2 separate regions of the Homo sapiens genome follow, and region 1 is linked to region 2. The links are contacts of gene promoters, found by promoter capture Hi-C in blood cells and fetal thymus (Javierre and others, 2016). All regions are on one chromosome and are shown on one strand. Each heading gives the region's core, a stretch centred on a gene start or on the middle of the fragment in contact. The rest is flanking DNA. Distances are from core to core; before and after follow the strand shown.

Region 1 (5,142 bases), core at 1,626-4,125, 670 kb before region 2:
TCATCACATATAAGCCAGTGGAGCTCCTCTCCCAGGCTCACCTCACAGGGCCTCCACGGAGAGGTAAGCCAAAGCAGAATGGGGGCAGGAGGGTCTCTATAAGATAGAAACCCCTAAGAAACACCATTTAAACACAAAGGCTTTTTTTTTTTTCCTCCTGAGACGAAGTCTTCCTCTGTTGCCTAGGCTGGAATACAGTGGCGTGATCTCGGCTCACTGCAACCTCTGCCTCCCGGGTTCAAGCAATTCTTCTGCCTCAGCCTCCTGAGTAGCTGGGATTACAGGTGCCCACCACCATGCCCAGCTAATTTTTGTATTTTTAGTGGAGACAGGGTTTCACCATGTTGGTCAGGCTGGTCTCGAACTCCTGACCTCATGATCCACCTGCCTTGGCCTTCCAAAGTGCTGAGATTACAGGCATGAGCCACCGCACCTGGTGCATTTTTTTTTAAATAAGCTAACATCTGCTCTTCAATACTAACATGAGGGTCCAGCCTATGTCTCAAGAAAGACAGGACAAAATGTCCCTCTGCCCATTCCAAGATTATTCAAAACTGACACGTACTTTGTTCTCTTTAAGGGCTCGTATCTTGTCTTCCAAGTCCTGGAGGACCCTGTCTTGTTCACAGAAGATGCTCAGTTTGACCTAAAAGCAAGAACAGGTGGAGAGGGCCTGGGGTGATGAGAAAAGGACATGACCTTGGGATTGCAATCAGACAGCCTTTGGCTACAGAACCATCCAAGCCCTGCCTGAAGCTGTTCACCCGGGGTCTGGGTCAGGAGGCAGCTGAGGGGTCAGCGTGTCACTCTGCTCACTCACGTCAGTGTCGCTCTCAGCGATCTTCACAGGCTTCAGACTTCGATCCTTGAGAAGGTCCCGGCCTGTCATCTGGGAGGCGAACAATTTAAAAGAGATTTAACCATGGTGTTTGAGATCAGAACTCAGGAAAGAAAATTCATCCTATAATGGATGGTGTGGAAGTCCTTGGCAGTGGCAGGTAGGGTCATAGTATGAGAGGGACAAAAACTTGGGCCATACTTCGCTATTTCTATGCCTATTTCATTTTAGGAAAAAACCAAAACCTTTTGATGATTCTAGTAATGCTGGTAAGTCCTTTGAGTTAAAGAAAATGTAGATGTTCAAGTTAAAGGATCATCAATTTTAAAAGTATATATTTGCCTAAAATGAATGTGAAAAATCAGCATGAATCTTGGAAGATTTGCCACCGATAAGACAGAGGTGTACTACTGAACGTGGGAACAAACACAAGTTACGAAGCCCATCACCCCCTGCCCAGGGTGGTGAGATGGGCAGACCCAGAGGAACAAACAAATCCCTTGACCATTGTCAAGCCTTAGTTTAATGAAGTCTCTGAGCAGCCCACTTCCCCGTGGGTAAGGCCAGCCTTCCTTACCCTTTACCATTTGGGAAGAAGACCTGGCCAAGGTAAAAAGGAACCTGGCTAGTTCCCAGCAAGGGTTTTTAATTGTTCCCTGAATAACTGAGGCTAGGCTGTACTTGTGTAAGTTACAAGAAAGGAAACCATAAAGCAATATACAAAAGTCACCCAAACTTGCGGGCCAATGGGATTTTACATTTCCCATCCCTCACTTGACTCAAAGTAGGCAATATGCTGCCTGTCTCTCACTGACTCCTGAGAATCTAAATCTTACTTATCCCATTTTTCCATTTCCCCCAATTTCTTTCTTGCCAAAAGTCATGCAGGGGCTGAGGGGAGTGACTTTCACAGATGCACCCTCCCATGGCCAAGATAAGGCCAGGGAGAACCAAGTCTATTTTGCCTAATGTAGGGGAAACCACCTCACTGAGCTCTATTTTGCAGATCTGACCAGGAAAATGGAGGGTGGAGCTAACAGTGGCAGAGACAGGTGGTGTGTGTGTGCTATGCAGAGAGGTCCCAATGTGGACCGATAGCTGCTGGAGAGAGAGGTGTAGATTTCTCCCCATTCTATCTGTAAGGTCCAGGAAGTTTGTCAGTGTGGATTGGGGGTGGAAATAAATTGGCAAACATTCCACTCAGTGCTCAAGCCCTTCATGTGCCCAACTGTCCTATGCTACCTCTCCCTGCAAACTGTCATGAGCAAATCCAAAGGTCAAGGGAGAGGACCTCTCCCTGCCTTGGAGTGAGGACTGATTCTGGGCTACACACATGCCCCACCCATTCCCACGATCCCTTTGGTCACACAGAAGAGGACGGAACCATTGTTTTATCTTGGTAAAGTCAGCCCTGAACAGAAGACCTGGCACAAACTCAGCAAATGCTTATTGAATTGCATTGCATGTAGGTCAAAGGGAAACACATGTAGGTCAGTGTTGTTGAGTTCCCGGAAAAAATAGAACTCCAGCCAAATTCTGCTCTTCAGACTGTCAGATTATGTGTACATACACGTATACACACAGTTGCAGAACACAAGACTGCAACAATCCACAAACAAACAGACTGTGCTGTCTCCTGCAATGCGGGGGGGGCGGTGCAGGGAGGTGTGGGGAGGTGGGCATGAAGTTAATCCTGGTGAATCACAAACAGCTGAACTTCTCAGGCAGAATGTGGGTTTTAAACTCAGGGGAACCCAGGAGAAAAAGCAGGTGAAAGCAGTGAAGTCTTCGCTCTATGCCATCGTCCTTTCATCAAAGCCAAGAACAAGGAGGTTGTCTATTCTCCAAACCGGCTGACCTTTGGGGCTCATTTTCTAGGTAGAAATCATTTTCAAATGGAGATACACTCTGGGGATTCTTTCCCCCAGCAAAACTCTTCCCCTTATTTCACTGAAGCTTTTTACAGAGGATGTCTTTTTGATACTTAAATAACAAGCCAGAAAATCTAATTGAGCAATGCCTCATTTATCCAGCACCATCAGGAAAAGAATGAGATATTTTATATAAAAAGGACATTTTGAGAAGAAGCTGAATCCTCTAAATTATACTTTTTGATGGAAAGCTTTCTAAAAGTATGCCCTTTGCTGCCTTCATGGAATACTGAATATACATTCAACCTTTTTTTTCTCTCTCTCAGGATATTAGTACTACCTCTTTTTCTAAGAAGTAGATTTCTCTTGTCCCTTTTTAAAGTGCTGCTTATCTTGCCAGGCACGGTGGCTCACACCTGTAATCCCAGCACTTTGGGAGGCCAAGGCGGGTGAATTATGAGGTCAGGAGTTCAAGATCAGTCTGGCCAACATGGTGAAACCCCATCTCTACTAAAAATACAAAAATTAGCCAGGCACAGTGCCGCGCACCTGTAGTCCCAGCTACTCGGGAGGTTGAGGCAGGAGAATCTCTTGAACCTGGGAGGCAGAGGTTGCAGTGAGTTGAGATTGCGCCACTGCACTCCAGCCTGGGTGACAGAGCGAGACTCCATGTCAAAAAAAAAAAAAAAAAACAAAAACAAAAACAAAAAAAACTGCTGCTTACTAGGTGTTGTAGGTTAGGAATTCAAAGGACTATAAGCTCGACTGACACGAGGTACTTACATCTCTTCTCTCCCTTTAACTGGGGGTGATGCCCTTCAGGGTGCTCTTTCCACACGTTGCATCTGCTGCTACTACAGCACCCAGCACATTAGAGTACAATGTTCCGTTTGCTCATTTGTCTCTCCTCACTAGAGAGTAACCTAATTAGGGGTGACTGTGGAGATGGATGCCTTTCCTCTGTATCCTCAAAGCCCAGCCAGGGCCTAGCATATTGAAGAAATTCGGGCAATGTTTGCTCAGTGAGTTCATGAATGTATCAAAGTAATGTGAGCTGACTCTGTCTCCTATGGACGAAAGGTCACAGGCTTTAGAGCATGGGCTTGATGAGAGCTGTTTCTACAGCTCAGAGGACCGTTAAGCTTCTGAATGTAGCTCTGCTCCAGACAGCCGAGGCTGCTAAGAAATATTATATCCACGTGTAGCGTATTACATCTAATTTTCCTTTTAAAAGTGTGTTTGTTATAGCCATGTTCAAATACACTTAAAACATCAACTCTGGGTCCCCCCAGCATCTCTGTCATCAGAAAAAGTAAAAGTCTGTGGGTGCTCATCCATTTGAAAGAGTCTCTCCATCAGAGGGGAATCAAAGGCCACCCAGGCATCTTCCCTCCCCTCCACCACATCCCAACCCACTTTCTCAGGGCTCACGATGGTTGGACACAACACCTGCTTCTCGATCTGCATCCTCCCCTGGAATGCTGTGAGAGCTGGCCACATTGCAGTCCCTACTTCTGCATCAATCAAAGAGGGTATGGGCAGGGGGTGGCATTTTATTCTAGTCCAGCTCCAGGCTGTTATCCAAATACCAACTGCCTGCCCCCAAAAAGTGCCACCTTAATCTCAGGGCCACCGTGGCATCTGAGGATACCCTGGCTCTTGGAAGATGACCAATAACTGCTGTTCCCTCCCAAGAAACTCATGCTCAACTCTGTCTGGGTGAGCCCTCGCCATGGAGGCAGACACGTGATGATGGAAACACAACACAAGCTGGTGGCAAGCCAGGCAAGCTCCCCCACCCTTGGCAGCACAAAACATGGAGTCACAGAAAACTGCAGATGAGAGGCTCAGCCTGGTGCATCAGCCAAAATGCTGAAGAGAGCTTCAGTTGAAAGAAAATAAACCAAAATGACTTGCGGGAAGCCTGGGGCGGTCAGGAGAGCAACTGGTTAAGCAAGTGATGAAGTCGGCACCGAGCCAGAAGCAATGGAATGACCCCGCTTGGAGACACGGATCAGATCATCTTACGCTTCTCCTGGGCCGACAGCCCCGTGCTGACTTCTTCAGCACTTTGTAAAGCACGTTGATCAAAGGTTCATTATTTTTAATCTGTTCCAAACAAAAAGGCAGATACAACAAAACGTAACAGGTGAGACATCAAATGACACTTGAAGCAGCCAGAATTTGGGGAACTGGCAAAGGGAAAACTTTAAGGAGGCTGTGTGCTATGCAATTCAAACAACCAGGCCTGAATCTTGGTGATGCTACTTCCATGGGACCGTGGATGCTCCTCCCATGGGCCATGGGACCTTCCCAGACTGCAGCTCTCTCCTTTTTATAAAATGTTATATGCTGTCTGAAGGGACTTTTGCACAGGCTGGTTTTTGTGGGAGTGCAATTTCAGTGTTCATTTCCTTCCTGGTTCTGCGGCAG
Region 2 (5,420 bases), core at 744-3,243:
ATTCACTTTCCTGAGTCCTCAGACAGTCACTCACCCATCAGACAGGATGCCCTCTGCAATCTCACACACCAGGACGAAGAGCAGCATGAAGGTCAGGATCCACCGCAGGTTGTGCCCAGGGAAATGAAGCCATGTGCTGTGGTGGATGTGCACCTTGGAGCTCTGACTTCCCCATCCTGCAGGGAGAGACAGTCAGAGGCAGGATGCCTGCCCACTTGGAGGAGGAAGAGGGTGCATGAACCCCAGAAAGGTGCTTGGGCATTGGGTCCATGGTGAGGGTGACACCTACACATGAGGATCCCCAAGGCTGGTACACACAAACTAAACGTCCAACTCATTCAGCCTGGTCCTATGCTGGTACCTCCCCCACCACACCTTTTTACTGAGACAGGGTCTTGCTCTGTTGCCTCTGCTGGAGTGCAGTGCCACGATCACGGCTCACTACAGCCTTGATCTCCTAGGCTCAAGTGATCCTCCCGCCTCAGCCTCCTGAGTAGCTGGGACTACAGGCGCACATCACCATGCTCAGCTAATTTTTAATTTTTTGTAGAAAGGGCGGGGGGGGTCTCACTATGTTGCCCAGGCTGGTCTCGAACTCCTGGACTCAAGCAGTCTTCCTGTCACAGCCCACCAAAATGCTGAGATTACAGATGTAAGCCACTGTGCCCTGCCAAGGTACCCCATTATACATACTAACTTCTTGTGTGACAAGTCATCAGGTTAATAAACCGTTTGGCTGAGAACAGAAGTGTAAATGCTGTTCTTTTTTGATTTTTGATGCACATATGAGCACATATTTTGTATGTTTTATTTCTATTTCTATCTAACTGTCTTTGTTAATAACTAGCAACTCTGCTTCTGCAGCAACCTCTTGTAAATCTAATTTTGTGACAATCTTTCCTTTCTTCCCCAAAGCTGTATATGAATTTTAAGATTTGCTTGTTTTCTTAAAGTGAATGAACACGTTTTGGGGATGCAGGGGACACCCTATGAGTTGATAGACTTGACTGGTCTGGAAGAGTCAAGGTCTTGGAGAGAGATGGGGGGGACCTCAGTGGAGAGGCACGCACGATTGTCCCGGCCGTGGCGCCCAACTTTGCAAGCAAGGGCGCCGGGGTCGCTGCGTCGGCGAGTCGGAGCTACTTTGCGCAGAGCCTGAGAAGTTGCGCTCTGGAGACACATGCCCGGGTGGGGTGGCGGGGGAAGGGAATCCAAGTCCCTAGCTCTCGCCTCTCCTCGCCCAGGGCGCGGGCCTGGGACTGTCAGAGATCACGGACCACTGCGCGGCTCAGCCCGGTGAAAGCATAGGGGTTAGCTGGGCCTCCATCCCAGACTCCAAAGCACAGGCTTCCCTCTTCCCTAGGCCCAGCTGCGGCTGACAGGGAGGCTGCCTTGCGGGAGGGGTGACCCGGCTCCCTAAGCTGCGCCACGGAGGGTGAGGCCCGACCCCTCTCCAGTTTCCCACTGCGTGCTGAGACCTCCTCTTTCCCTTTTCCCCATCCCAGCTCTTGGCCCTGCAGAAGCAAAACTTGGTGATCCCATGGGTCACAAACGTCCGCTGTGTTTGGCGCGGGATCGGGGGCACCGGGGGAGTGAAGGGATGAGCTGGTGTGCGAGTGCGGGGACCGGCGGGCAGGACACAGGGCAGGGGACCCCGGGAACGAGGCGGACGGCGGTCGCGGGCCGGAAGGGGACGCCGAGCGGTGCGGCGCGCAGCGCCTCCTCCTCCCTCCCTGCTCTCCCGTCCCCTCCTCCGCGGCTCGCTGCGCGCACTCACCAATGAAGAGGATGGGGAAGGTGATGAAGAGTAGGAAGACGTGCGGCACCACGTTGAGCGCGTCCACAAAGCAGCCGTTGTTGAGGACCCCCTGGTCCACCCGGTAGGCGGCCGAGTGGTTCTCGCTGCCGCAGAAGGCCAGGGGCATGGCGGCGCGGGCGCGGGCTGGGCTCGGGCTCAGCTGGCTCCGCTGGCTCCGCGCGCCTGCCGCGCCTCTGTCCCTTGCAGCTCCGCCGCCCGGCCCGGCCGTCAGGCCCCCGCCCCCCGGGCCCCGCCCAGCCCCGCTGGCCTCCCCCTCCCTCACCCCGCCCTGCTCCACCACCTGCGGGGCCGGGGGGCGGCGAGGAACCCGACCGGCCCTGCTACGCTTGCGCCCACCTTCCAGATGTGGAGGCGCGTGCTCCCAGATGTTGCCGGGGTGGCTTCGTGAGTGCCCTGATGCACGCGTGCGCTGGGGGAGAGGGGAAAGGCAGGCTAAGATGGGGAGTGGGGTGTGGGCACACTGGAGTCTGGGTGGGAAAGGAGGGTGGGGCGTGCAGAAGAGGAGAGAAGGGCCCGCAAGGCCTGGAGTGGGCGGGTTCAGGGTCCCGAGTGTGAGTTCACCTGGGCGTGGTGCGGATGGATGTAGAGAGCCGAGGGATGGCGCAAGTCTCCACCCAACATGGATGAGAAAAGTGGGGCAGAACGTTACCTTGTGGTGGTGGTGGTGGTGGGGTGGGGCTTGGACATTTTCAAAAGTGGTCCCAGGTGGGGCACTCCTAGGTACTGCTTTACAGCGTATCTGGCACTTTCACACAAGGGATGTCCCAGAACTCTTGCTAAGTACAGGTTCTAATCGCTTCCAATTTTCTGATGGGGAAACCCAAGCTGCGAGGGAGCTGAAGGGAGGCCAGTAACATGACTTCCCCCAAGGTCTCAGTGCCAGCAAGCAGGGAAGCATAGCTTGAACCCAGCTCCTCAGGTCCCCCGTCCCCACCCCCATCATTTGTACTCATGCCTCTGGTACATGACAACCTTACAGCGACTGGCAGACCAATGGGTAGAATGGGTGACAGCCCCAGGCTGATAAAGAGGAGTTTAAGAAACGCATCTGGCCAGATGGATGTGAGGCAGTGGAGAGGGACTGAAATTCTTAACCTCACCTGGGACAGGCTTAACAGTTGGAGGACACCGTGCAATTGTAAAGACAACATTATGTCTTCCTATACGTTTTGGAGAGATTCTCACAAGACTGTGGCCCAAAGAAGTTTATATTGTATGTAGAAAGAACAGAAGATGGGATTTGGGGGTTAGATTTAAGGAGAACTTTCCTAGTTAGGGTATGAAGCATAAATGCACATGTTCTTAGGAACAGTCAGGGGAACACAAAAGAAAGACCCCTTCAGCCCCTTTGCCTACAAGCTTCACTGAGCCTGCCCTGAGGCTGCTGAGCCTGGTGAGCCTCTCCAGCACGCTGTCAGCAAGGCCGAGGCTCTGCCCAGGCCCTGAGGCAGAGGGCAGATGGGGTTGGGTGAAAAGCCTTGGGAAAGCAGGAGTTCAGGGTCTGAATGCCTCAGTCTCTGACTTTGGAGAATTTCTCAGAAGCCAAAAGATGTTTCTTGCAGCATCAGCCAAAATAGTGAAAACTTGGTGGCAAGAAATATCCAGCACCAGGGACAGGGGTTAATCAACCTTGAAAAATGCAACTGCTGGGACGGTGCTAGCTGAGTCTGTGTAGTCAATAGAAAAACTTTACAAGATAGTGTCAGGTGAAAAACGGCAAACAAAATTGTGCTTCCCATGATTATAGCCGTACGAAATATGTATACTTGCATGAAGCCTGCAGGGAAAGGTCAGACTTGGAAATTTGGTAAGGCGGTGCTCAGTATGTACTGGCTGCCGTCGCTGTGCTTATCCTCATTCCCTTTCTTTAAAAATGAGACAACTGAGGTTCAGAGAGATGAGATGACAGGTCCATGGTCACCCAGTAAGATTTTTTCTTTTAGTTTGTTTTTCTTGCTTTCAAGGTTTTTTTTTTTCATATTTTCTGCAATGTTGTTATTTTCTTTTGTAGTTACAATTTCAGTTTTTTCACACTTTCAGCAATGCTATCTTTCTTTTTAGCAGTAATAATATATTTACTTTTAAAGAACAGGGCTCCTAGTCCTGGCTCTACTACTACTAGTTGTGTGATTTGGGGGCAGGTTACCATTCTGCACTTCAGTTTCCTTATTTCTAAATGGAAAAGATAATAATATGGAACCCAGAAGATTAAGATGAGATCATGGGTATGAATGTGCTTTGCAAGTTGGGGAGATAGTCCAAGCTACTTCATCCCATGGGTGACTACACACGGCAGCCCCTTGATCAATCAGGGTTATTTAATGGTCTCTCCCTCACCCCACATTGCCTGGTGCAACCCTCACACTTGCCTATTCTGGGTCATTTGAAACAAACAAAAAGTCTGGTGTTAAGGGAGCATCAACTGGGACTAAGAGAGTGTTAAGTCTGGAGTCTTGGGGACTCGTGTTTGCCATCTCTAGCACAAACTTACTGTGTGACTGTGGACAAATTCCACCTTTCCCTGCACCTAGGTCTACACTGAGGACATGCACCACACTGCCCACCATGTGGGTGGGAGAATTACTTTGAAAAAGTGTGGAGTCAGGTGCGCACGGAGGCATGAAAGGACTTCCTTTGTAGTATATGGGTTGTATTCCTGGAATCAACCCAAATGCTCATCAGTATGGGGCTGGTTCAAACAGACAAAACCCAAACAGACAAAAAACAGATATTGTCTGTACTGTGGGATACTGTGGAGCAAGCGCAGAGAATAGAGTTATGCTTACTGGCAGGGGAAGATGTCCAAGACACAGACGCAGAGCGGTGTGTGGCATACAAAATCATTCATGTCTGTAACAGGGCTACGTCTGCCTCTGTCGGGGAGATGCTGGGTCTCTGGTGCTTCCCCACCTCTAGCCATGCCTTTTGTTTCTCTTGCTAGGGGCTGGAAGAAGGTCAGACTCTGAGAGCTTGCTTTGAGCAAGGGTACCCCGCTCTGAGAATTCCCAGCCATTCTCCTGGCAAAATGAAAACTAGGGCTGGATTTCCGGGATTGGATTCTCACACTCACCGGCTACTGGGTGGGTGTGGCCTCAGGCAGGGTGCAGTAAAGGGGCTGGTGCAGAGCTTCAGAAAAGTCCTTTCCAGATCCCTTGAGCCAGGGAGGTTAAGGCTGCCGTGAGCCATGATCGGGCCACTGCACTCCAGCCTGGGCGACAGAGAGAGACCCTGTCTCAAAACAAAACAAAACAAAACAAACAAACAAAAAGTCCCTTCCAGCTCTGATGTTGTTCTGGCCTTAGTGCCTTTGTCTCTATCTGGCTGACTAGGAGTGCCAGTGTTCCAGTGACCATGGCAGAGGGGGTCATTACAATGACAATGGTGACGTAATGGAGTGGGGTTATAGTTGAAGAAATAAACCCTTTCAATAACCACAATCAACAGCGGCCTGGTTAAAAACAGACAAAAGCAAAACTCATGGTGTGACCTATACTATGGAATAGTGGAGAACAAGTACAGAGCCTAAGTTCGGGTGACCCTTACTGACTGGGAAAGGTGTGTCCTTTCCTGTCTCCTTCAGGTGCTCAAAGCCTGTATCCAC

Evidence for each region. The method cuts DNA at HindIII sites, captures the fragments that hold promoters and counts their contacts. A CHiCAGO score of 5 or more calls a contact.
Region 1: a fragment that was not itself captured here is called in contact with the fragment with the promoter of ABCC8 in region 2 in 2 of 17 cell types (naive CD8 T cells and naive B cells); the score reaches 6.1 in naive CD8 T cells.

What each region holds. Positions count from the first base shown.
Region 1 is chr11:16,802,407-16,807,548 of GRCh38, forward strand. It overlaps PLEKHA7 (pleckstrin homology domain containing A7), which reads right to left. Exons shown (of 27, transcript NM_001329630.2): 14 at 821-889; 15 at 566-646. Among named protein-coding and RNA genes, the nearest start is that of C11orf58, 66 kb to the left of the region's middle. RefSeq lists an enhancer at 1-943. The HindIII fragment of the contact is 166 bases long and covers 2,793-2,958 here.
Region 2 is chr11:17,474,852-17,480,271 of GRCh38, forward strand. It overlaps ABCC8 (ATP binding cassette subfamily C member 8), which reads right to left and starts at 1,994. Exons shown (of 39, transcript NM_000352.6): 1 at 1,778-1,994; 2 at 35-176. The coding sequence starts at 1,925. It overlaps LOC124902641 (a long non-coding RNA gene), which reads left to right and starts at 1,800. Exons shown (of 2, transcript XR_007062609.1): 1 at 1,800-1,880. RefSeq lists an enhancer at 650-1,206. The HindIII fragment of the contact is 8,626 bases long and covers 1-3,176 here.